Linked DNA regions of Homo sapiens: region 1 is linked to region 2. The links are contacts of gene promoters, found by promoter capture Hi-C in blood cells and fetal thymus (Javierre and others, 2016). All regions are on one chromosome and are shown on one strand. Each heading gives the region's core, a stretch centred on a gene start or on the middle of the fragment in contact. The rest is flanking DNA. Distances are from core to core; before and after follow the strand shown. Region 1 overlaps LOC105372664 (a long non-coding RNA gene). Region 2 holds the start of SALL4 (spalt like transcription factor 4).

Region 1 (5,288 bases), core at 732-3,231, 290 kb after region 2:
CACTAGCATGGTGGCTGGGAGTAAAATCTTGAGTCCTTGCACATCATTCTATTTTGCTCTCATACTTGAGATAGTTTGGCTGGGTATAGAATTCTAAGTTCAAAATCATTTCCCAACTCTTGAGGGCACTGTTCCATTGTCTCCTAGAAGCCAATACTACCCAGACATATTTCTAGATATAGATGTCCCCTGTCCACTCCCTTCCATCCTGATTGGAATCCTGTGAGCACTTTTACTCTCCTGGCCCCTTAGAATTGTGGACTTCATTTCTCATTTGATTTTCTATTTTCACTCTATTTTCTTCTCACTTCCATTTTCTTTTCTTCCTAGACCTGGTCAGAAACCAGACTTCAGGACTGGCTCTTATTCTCAGTTCACTCACCCAATTTTTTTCCCGTAATCTCTGGGACATTAATTTTATAGCTAGCAATCCTAGTTTTATTTCATACTTCTTTGTTCTCATTATCTCTTCATAGGTCTCTATTTGGATGCAACATTTCTGCCAGTGGGTAGACACCAATTAGAATGTGAAAATTACCCAAGTACTCTTACTTCCAGGATTAGTTATTGACTTGGCTCATTTTATTCCATTCATTTCCTATAGATGACTCATGATCCTTGGTGGACTATATTTGGGAAAGTAGACTGGTTTAATGATTAGACATGGATGCCAGAGGTTTCACCTGCTACTGGGTTGGTTGGGCAGTTTTGCCAGGCCTTGGCTAGTCCCCCAAGCTTTGTGGCCCTGGCTGTCTACATGCTTGTTCCAAGCCCAGAGCCCTCAGGGCCCTTGGATATTGGCTGGAAACTTTGGCTTCCAACTGTACAGCTGCCTCCCATTTGTCTGCTGGGACACAGCTTTCTATACTCAGTTTTAAACATCACTATGTTCCTGTCTGCTCACCATTTTCCAGGAATTCATTGAAAATTTTCAACTTATGAGCATCTTTATGAATATCTCAAACCCCATTTTTCCATGCCACGATGAGTTGGTCCTATCATTTCAGTAGGGTCCCATAAAGGAAGTTCCTAAGATTAAAAGTTTGTGATTTTTAATTATACTTAATGGATCCTGCTACATTCCAAATTTAGCCATGCAATCAGTGTATACATTTACTGAAACATCTAGTTTATAGGTCTGACTTGAGATACATCATTGGCTTCTTGGCAGTTATAGTGGGTATCTACTCCCAGCTGGATTCTATATAGTCAAGATATAAAACCCAGCTGTCAGTCATATTTTACCAAAAGTTGTTGTTCCGGCAACAGAAAAATGACAAATCTCACAATTATCACAGAAGTTCCAAATTCTTGTACTTCTACCACACCAAGTCATTTAAGTTGCTTGTGTTGTTAAGTAAATGAAGGTTAAGAAATTAGAGAAAAAGTAAGGGATTGAGGTTTCCTGGTCAGGGACTCACCCGTGTGAGATCGCAGGTGGACGGTGAGCTGGCTGGAGTTGCGGCTGGCATAGGGGCAGAGCTGGCATTTGTACGGCCGCTCATCAGAGTGGATCCGCAGGTGCTTCTTGAGGCTACTGCTGTCCACGGCAGCGTAGTCACACAGGTGACACTTGTGTGGCTTCACACTGGTGTGGCACCGCATGTGCATGGTCAGGTTGTCCTTCCGGCTGAAGCACTTGTCACAGAACTCACACTTGTGCGGTTTGTCTCCTTCAAACACATAAGGAGTCAAAGTTAAAGGTTTTTTGGTCAAGATGGCTACAAAGATTTGACCAAGATGATAGCCTGGGCATATGGGTGTGCCGCCTCCTCCTGTCCAAATACTGAGAGAGAAAGATACTGAAGTCTACATCAGCATATTGGGAAACAAGAATGTGTATCATTCATTGATAGTTCAGAAATCCTAAGGGAAAGATGACATAAAAATCTGATTGATGGAGAAAATTACAGGCCAAACCCTGTTTGGGAAAAATGGCAGTGGTTATAGAAGTACTCAGGATAAGAAGTGGCAGCTGTAGGGATCTTGGGCAGCTTCATGAACCACATGGAGAATGGTCAGGTGGACCCCTTCCTCTCACTTCTTCCAAACAGCAAGCAGCACGGCATCTCCCCCTAGGCTGTTGGTCAAAGGGTGCTGAGGTCAGAAAAAGAATACAAGGGCCTGGTAAGTTAGAGATGCCAGGGACAGCAGAAGACCACATACCCAGAACACTTCCATCCAGCCATGTTTCATCACTACCCCCTAGCCCAACCCTTCCAGGCTGATCATATCCAAATAAAATTAGTTTACCCAATAAACAAATGCTTGGGGAAAGCCAGAACCAGAAAGACACGCCCAAGTCAAGAACTTAGTTACTAAAGCAAAGGGAGGAAATGAAATTAGAGAAATGAAAACTATGGAAATCAAAATAAAAGTTCTAATAAGTTGACCAGCAAAAAGGGTGTCGAATGACAGCTATTGGTGGATGTAGGTCATCATACATTTGTCCACAACCGCAGAATGTACAACATCAAGAGTGAACCTTGGCCAGGTGCGGTGGCTCACACCTGTAATTCCAGTGCTTTGGGGGGCTGAGGTGGGTGGATCGCTTGACCCCAGGAGTTTGAGACCAGACTGGGCAACATGGCAAAACCCTGTCTTTACACAAAAAATACAAAATATTAGCTGGATGTGGTGGTGCATGCCTGTAGTTCCAGCTACTTGGGAGGCAGAGGTGGGAAGATCACCTGAGCCCAGGAGGTTGAGGTTGTGAGCACAGATCGTGCCACTGCACTCTAGCCTGGGTGACAGAGCAAGACACTGTCTCAAAAAAAAAAAAAAAAAAATGAACCTTACTGTAAACTATGGTCTTTGGTTGAGAATGTTGTGTCAGTGCAGGTTCATCTATGGTAAAAATGCACTATTCAAATGTAATGTTGGTAATGGGGAAGGCTGTGCATGCGCAGGAGCAGGGAGCATGTGGGAAATATCTGTATCTTCTTGTCTTTAGGTTCACTTTTGCTGTGAACCTAAAACTGCTCTTATAAAAACAAAACAAAAAGAAAAAGCCACCTATTAAGAAAAATCTTAGAAATGGAAGATACAGCTAAAGAATCTCCCAAAAGGACAAGGGGGAAAAGACGCCAAAAGGTAAGACACGAAAGCTCGTTCTAGATGGTCCAGGATAGAACTGAGAAGAATTATTTCCCAACACTAAAGACAGCCATGCATCTTATTTAGAAGCAGGGTGGTCCAATTTCAGAACCCTAAGAAGGGTGAGATCTGGAAGCTTCCAGAAAGAAAACCACCAGCAAAATGCTCACATCAGCATAAAGCTCCTCAGAACAGTGGATGCTAGCAAGACAGGAACAGGATCTTCAACTTTCTAGAGAAACTGTTTTAATAGAATCTTATACTTGAATTAGCATTCAGTGAGAGGAGAAGATAGTTGATATATGACTTGGTATCACACTTAAACACTGTACACCAGAAAAAAAAATAAGGGTGATGGTGAAGGTAAGATGGCAATATGAGAAAATACTACAATGGAAAAAGTATAGCTTTCAGACAAGAGAAAAACAACCATCAAAAGACTTGGTTGGGGCGACTGGGCATGGTGGCTCACACCTGTAATCCCAGCACTTTGGGGGGCCAAGGTGGGCAGATCATGAAGTCAGGAGTTCGAGACCAGCCTGGCCAACATGGTGAAATCCTGTCTCTACTAAAAATACAAAAATTAGCTGGGCTTGGTGATGCACACCTGTAATCCCAACTACTGGGGAGGCTGAGGCAGGAGAATGGCTTGAACCCAGGAGGAGGAGGTTGCAGTGAGCCGAGATCGTGCCACTGCACTCCAACCTGGGTGACAGAGCAAGATTTTTTTTTTTTTTTTTTTGAGACAGACTTGGTTGGGCACAATGGCTCACATCTGTAATCCCAACACTTTTGAGAGGATCACTTAAGTCCAGAAGTTCTAGACCAGCCTGGGCAACACAGTGAGACCCTGACTCTACCAAAAAAAAAAAAAAAAAAAAAAAAAGGATTTGCTACGTGTGGTGGTATACCCTTGTAGTCCCAGCTACTTGGGAGGCTCAGGTGGGAGGATCACATGAGCCCAGAAGGTGAGCTCTGATCATACCACTGCACTCTAGCCTAGGTGGCAGAACAAGAACTTGTCTCTATGAAACGAAAAAACCAAACAGCACAAAATAAAAATCACATCAAATATCAGATAACTAGATGTCAAAGTAAATATTATAAACAAAAACGTATTACATTTCCCTCTTAAAGATTTAAATTATAGGTCAGGTGCTGTGGCTCACGCCAGTAATCCCAGCACACTGGGAGGCCAAGGCAGGAGGATTGCTTGAGGCCGGAAGGTTGAGACCAGCCTGGGCAACACAGGGAGAGCTCATCTCTACTTTAATAAAAGTTAAAAATATATTTAAGTTAAATTAAGAAAAAAAGCCACTAAATGCTCTGAAGATACCTAAATCAAAGTGATAGGAACACAATAGAAATTCTAGAAAAATGCTTAAAAAAAGTAGGAATATCAATTTTAGCATCAGGCAAAATAGAAATCATGGTGAAATCCATTAAAAATTTCATATGGATGAGAGAGTTCAGTATGTAGATAAAAGTCAAACTTTTATGAGTGTAACATGGCTTCACAAATGGTTTTTCAAAAATGTCATCTTGGAAGTTTTAGAATGTCTTTTAGGACAGTTTTTGTCAAAATTAGATTACAAACTCCAGAAACAGATAAGTTTCCTATTTCAAAACCTATGGCCGTGGCTGGGCGCGGTGGCTCACGTCTGTAATCCCAGCACTTTGGGAAGCCAAGGCAGGCAGATCACCTGAGCTTGGGAGTTCGAGACCAACCTGACCAACATGGAGAAACCCCGTCTCTACTAAAAATACAAAAAAATTAGCTAGACGTGGTGGCACATGCCTGTAATCCCAGCTACTTGGGAAGCTGAGGCAGGAGAATCGCTTGAACCCAGGAGGTGGAGGTTGCGGTGAGCCAAGATTGCACCATTGCATTCCAGCCTGGGCAACAAGAGCGAAACTCCGTCTCAAAACAAAACCAAACAAAAAACCTATAGTCTATAATGGCTTTAAAGTAGTTTGTAGATTTAAGTTCACTTCTAACAAAATGCTGAAATCAAGTGCACAGTATGCAATTCAAGAAACCAAAAGAAAGAATTGAGGCTACGTATAGCACTTGATCAATAAAAGTAAAAATGGTGCTTAAGAAGGAAGGCTTAGCTCAAAAAGAGAGGATACCAACAGATCAGGGTTCTTAATCTCAACACTATTAGAAATTCTCTGCTGTTTGGTGCTTT
Region 2 (5,469 bases), core at 2,630-5,129:
GCCGACCAAACTCCAACATTGTTTTATTTCTGGGACCTCTTCATCTAAACCGTGTGAAGGCACATCCCAACATTTAAGATGGCAGAGGAGAGGCCACCAAACCCAACCAGCCAAGCACCAATCACGGCTCCCTTGTCGAAGATGCCAAAAAGAACATCTCATCACATCACCAACTGACCTAAGGTTATTTTTAAAAAACCAATAAAAACAAAACAAAACAAAACAAAACAAAACAAAAAAAACAGTTCCTTGGGCTCTGGGGCGAGGCAGGACAAGACACCATGGGCCATCAAGCAGGGCAAGGCACCACGGGCAAAGCCATTTCAAACAGGTGCTGCAATTTAAAATGAGTAAAAACATGACTATCACTTTTGGTCTTTAATATCTTGAATTAAAGATAGCGCACTCGAGTCCCCAGCCTGGTGTCTGGCAGGCAGCACACTGCCATTTCTGCTAGATTGCCTCAACTGGCAGCTCAACACCATCTTGACACAATAAACACAAATAAAAACATTTTGGTATTTTGAACAAAATTAAGACTGATCACATTCCCAATTCATAGTAGCCCTTCTATAGTTGAAATTATCTAAACAGGGCATTTTATCACTGCTATATAGAGGAGGAACCCAAAAACTCAGAAAAAACAAAAAAACAGAAAACGCCACCAAGCTGGCTTCAAGGTTACACAGCTGAAAGTCACACAGCCACAGTGGAACGCGGATCCCATTCTAAAACCTGACTTCCCAGGCATCAACCTAACACTTCACATTTTAAAAAAGGAAATGCTAACTGCCTTCTGCCTCCCAAGATGGTTCCCCAACCCACAGCCCAGGAGGAAGCTCACTAACAGCAGCACGAATGACAAAGTATCATTTGCTTCTGCACTGCACATTTTTATTCAACAAAAGGAGCTGTTTGGCAAATTGTAGCTTCTCTCCCTATGGGAAACCCACATGAAGTCTAACGTAGAAAGTTGACCTGAAACGTTAACTAACGTCAAAATCCTTCTAAGCCAGCGTAGGTCATTTTGGTGAGTAATTGGAAATAGGAAGTTATTCGAAACTTGGGAATCCTAATCGTTGATGTTTGTAATCCAGTTTAGCACAAAGGGCATTTGAAACTCTTTTGAGAAAATGCTAATTTTTCCTGTATGTAGTGTTAGCCCTGCGACCACCTGCAGATTTTTTGATCTGCTAATTGATCGCCAGACGTCATTTTCCTCCCTCAAAAACTGCATTCTCGAATGGCTTTGCAAAATAAGACCAGCTCAATCTGCATTCTAAAAAATTATGTGAGACATATACATACATCTAAGTTAGATATGTATGTCTACATTATATACCTAACACATATAATTTTAGGCAGCTCAAATGCAAACAACCCAAACGCAGCCATTAAAAACGCACTGCTTGGGAAAACAACCTTCTCTCCCAAGGAGGCAATTGGAGGCTCTGCAAACACATTCTAGCCGCCAGGAGTTATTACCAAGAATTCCACACTTGGCAAAGAACAGCGGGCACAGACGACGATCAAGCAGGCGACCGGCACGAATCCCCTAGGGTACCCATCCTTGGCCCAGCCCAGCACTCTCCATTCACCCCCACAACCCGTCCCACCCACCAGGTGTGAGCCAGTACCTGCGAAGGGACCCCGCCTCCCAGCAAAGGGCTAGGCTTCAAGCTGGGCCTCCAGGGGGCGCCCGCGCGCAAGCCGGGTGGGCTGTCCGCGACAACCCTGGTGATCAATAGCCAACTCCCCTCCCTCCCAAATCGCAGTGGCAGCGCACGGCCAGGCCCGAGGTTTTAGCTCAGCTCAGGTTGACTCTGATTCCAAACTCCAACCATCGTTAATTTCAGAAGCCCTCTCGTAACAAGCTTCCCTCCCGAAAGGTGCCAAACACCACCAAAAGCCCCACGTGTGTGCGCCCACCCAAAATGAAGGGGGAAGGGGAGGTCAGCGTAGGACCAGGGGAGGGGTCAGAACCAGGAGCTCGCCCCTCCTCTCCGGAGGAAGCAGGCGGGCTGAGGGTTAACCCTTTTGTTCCAGGTGGGCCAGGCCACGAAGCCTTCACGCTCCCCTCAACCCCCACCCCACCCCGCCCCCAACCAAGGCACAAAGAGAGTCCCTCCAGGCGCCTGGGACCTCGGGTGCGCGCTGCGCTGACCACCCGGCGCCCCGAAAACGCCCAGCCATCCCCTCCGTCAAGCCGATCCTTTTAATTTGCCCTGGAAAAATGTTAAACGGGGAATTCTATTGACGTATTATAAACTTGGGAAATGTATTACATTCAGTCTCCGACAAAAAGGCGGGGATACGGAAGCCAAAAAGTGGCGACCGTCTTCTCGGGAAACCCCGGGTATCAGAGATGGTCTCTGAGAGTCCTCCGGGGTTGCCGCGCACACCCGTCTGCTGCAGGGAAATTAGAAAGCAGGCGGGGAGCGGAGCGACGAACAAGGCCGGAGAGGAGGCTACAAATCCCCCCTCCCCCCACGCGCACGCTAAAAACTTATCAGGCGACAATTTGGCGGGCCGGGATGGAGACGAGATAGTGGAAAACCGCCTCGCTCCTAAAACCTCCGCGGTGAAGTGATGAAGTGGGAACAGAGTTGGCCCCGCCGTTCCTGGCGCGGCTGGGGTCCCGAACTCCCCTCGATCTGGGAAACGCTGGCCGCGGAAGCGTGGGCCAGGTCAGCCGCGGGAGTTCGCTCTGGCCCCCCACCTCTCCCCTTTCACACCCAAGCGCAAATGTGGAAAGCCGAGCGCTCCAGAAAAGCCACGCAAAACGGGAGGCCGGTGCACCCCAGTGGGGCTGCCGCGCGCCCGCCACCCCGGCCACTGGGGGCTCGCACCCTCGGGCTTGCCGCGGTTATTTTTAGGAAGTCGGAAATCAAAGATGGCTGGAGGTCAGGCCCCGAAAGGTTAGGGCGAAGATCGGCAGGCGGCGCAGCCCGGGCAGAAAAGGCGAAATCCAGAAAAGAAAAAAATTTTAAAGGGAAACATTGAGCCCTCCTCCCCCACCTCTCTGGGCCCTCCAATCCCCTGCGCAGCGCGGGTGGCCCGCACCCCAGCTCCTGAGGGTGGGGAGAGGTCGCGCCCCCTCCCCCCACTTGGCCCGGGAGGGGCGCGTGCAACAGATCGTCCTCCTCCGGGGGGTCTTCCAGGGGTGCGCCCCTCCTCCAGCCTCCAAGAAAAGCCCCAAGGGGCTGGTGGAGAGGGTGGGGATCCCCCGGGGTTCTTTCTTTTGAGAGCGACGCGAGGGAGGGGGACCTAAGTTACAAGGGGGGGGGGTAACACCAGTGAGGGGAGTGGAACCAATTAAGTGAGGGGCAGAGGACAAGGAGAAGGGAACCTTTCGGGAGCGAGAACAGAGGAGCGAGTGGGGGTCAATTTTACAATTAGGGGAGAAAGCTGGGGGTGAAACTTACACAAGAGGGGAGAAGAGGAAAAAAGTGTGAAATGTGCAAAAGGCGGGGTGGTGGGGAGAGGAGGAGACCTCTCCTCCCGGGCACTGAGCCCCCAAATCTCGGCTCCTGAATTTGCGCTGGACGCCGCCCGCTCCCCGAAGCCTGCGCCCTCGAGGATCCCGCGTACGTCCGGGAAGCTCCCCTCCCCGGGCGGGCGCCCCAGCCCCACTCACCCAGCTCCCCCGCCGCGGGCGCCGCTGGGGCCGCATCTGCAAACTCCGGGGTCTGCTGCTGCGGCTGCTGCTCGCCCTGGTCCTCCTCCGAGTTGATGTGCTGGGGTTTCGCCTGCTTGCGCCTCGACATGGTGCGAGCATCGGGGCGCCGGGAGAGCCGCAGTTATTTGCCCTCTCCGCCACAAATTCCTGGAGTTGGGAAATTTACCCCCCTTCGGCCGGAACGCGCATGTCCCAGTAATTATTATTATCAATAATGCATTGCGATTTATCATGAGCCCTGACAGCTGATTGGCCTGGGTCCAAGACCTCAGAGATCATTTAAATAAGCCCTCATTGATCAGGGAGGGGTGAGGCATTCTGGGCTTTGTAGTCCGGGCCTACTTGTGACAAAGGCGTGTTCATCAGGGGAGCGCAGCTAATTAGCATCCGGGCTCAGATTGGCTGGGGCGGGGACGAAATCAGAGGGGGACCCATCCTTGCTCCAGCTATCTCAGTCCTTGGAGAGGAAAAGAAAATGGGGAGAAATGCGTACTCATTAAAAAGTAGGAGCTTACGTAGAAGTTTTGGAACGGCTTTATTTGGTAGTTACTTGCTCCAAAGATTACTTGGTAAGGTTGATGTCCACCAGCCGAGAAGGGAGATCTCTTCACAGTGGAATATTTTGGCTCAGTTTTCACATCTACACGCACACACATTCCCCCAAACCTGAGATGTGACCCGTGTCCCCTCCCATCTTTTTGATTAAAAATGTTTAAGTTGAGTCTCGAGATAACTGAAGAATGATGAATGGTGGTGTTTTCAGCCCTCCCACCCATCTCAACTCTTAAAGTGAGCTCGGAACTTCCAAAATTTCAGATACCCCACCACCACCATGACTTACCTCCTTTAAAAGCTGATTAATAGCCTCCAGGATTCCTGTTCACAAAGACTGGTTTGTGGTTACAATGCAAACCTTGATTTTTTTTTAACTTCAAAATGACTGGCTACTAAATATAGAAATGGCAAATGATAAGCAAGCATAGTCAGAGATAATATCAAAACAGCAAGCAATTGCATTTTTTTCCCCAGGAGCCATAAATGCCTGATAACATCATATTTTATTACTGAGACAATGCTCTTGCATCTCCCATGGAATGGCAATGGGGCACTGTCACAGTATCTGGTTGTTACTAATCACTATTGGAATTTTTTTGTGCAATACACACATTATTACAGAAAAGGTGTATCGTTCAAAGTGATTGTATCATTGACACATGATGCCTGGAATTTTTTAAAGTGGGGCTTGTGTGTGTGTATATGATATATTACATGTATACACATTTATACCGTAAATTCATGTATACTTAATTTGGCTAACTGCTTTACACAATGTACATGCTCAATAAATGTTAAATGAATGATGAAATCATCAACCTGCTAAGTCTTTGATTGGTCTTTCCATAACTGCTCTGGGCATGCGTCTTTGTTTGGCATTTACTTCATTGTAAGGGACTGTGCAGATATAAACCCTCCCTCCACATTTGTGCATTGCATTCTCTTGATTAGTTATTCATCACGTTCCCAGCTTGTAAACTCATCAGGAATACAAGCAAAATGGAATGCTGGGCTCATCAATGTGTTCACCTGGGTATTTGGACAACCCAAGGCAGAAAATAAATCAGCTTGATCATCTTTTTTATATTCGTGGCCATCAGTAAAAACTTGTTGAAGGAAGATTAACCTTCAATTTTTGAGTCTCTGAAAAAGTCTTGCCTTATTTTATGTATAATATTTAAAGCAAGTAAGACAGAATTATAGCCAACAGCCAGATTGAAAAGGTAAGAATTTGG

What was found. Contacts are between HindIII fragments. The CHiCAGO score rates a contact against its expected background, and 5 or more counts as called.
Region 1: a contact is called between a fragment that was not itself captured here and the fragment with the promoter of SALL4 in region 2, in 1 of 17 cell types (erythroblasts). The highest score is 6.0, in erythroblasts.

The regions. Positions count from the first base shown.
Region 1 is chr20:52,086,971-52,092,258 of GRCh38, forward strand. The region is part of intron 2 of LOC105372664 (a long non-coding RNA gene); the gene reads left to right. It also overlaps a transcript of ZFP64 not described here. Among named protein-coding and RNA genes, the nearest start is that of ZFP64, 100 kb to the right of the region's middle. The HindIII fragment of the contact is 2,497 bases long and covers 734-3,230 here.
Region 2 is chr20:51,798,642-51,804,110 of GRCh38, forward strand. It overlaps SALL4 (spalt like transcription factor 4), which reads right to left and starts at 3,880. Exons shown (of 4, transcript NM_020436.5): 1 at 3,638-3,880. The coding sequence starts at 3,767. RefSeq lists enhancers at 663-1,586, 1,734-1,783, 2,299-2,941, 3,585-4,226. The HindIII fragment of the contact is 4,794 bases long and covers 1,873-5,469 here.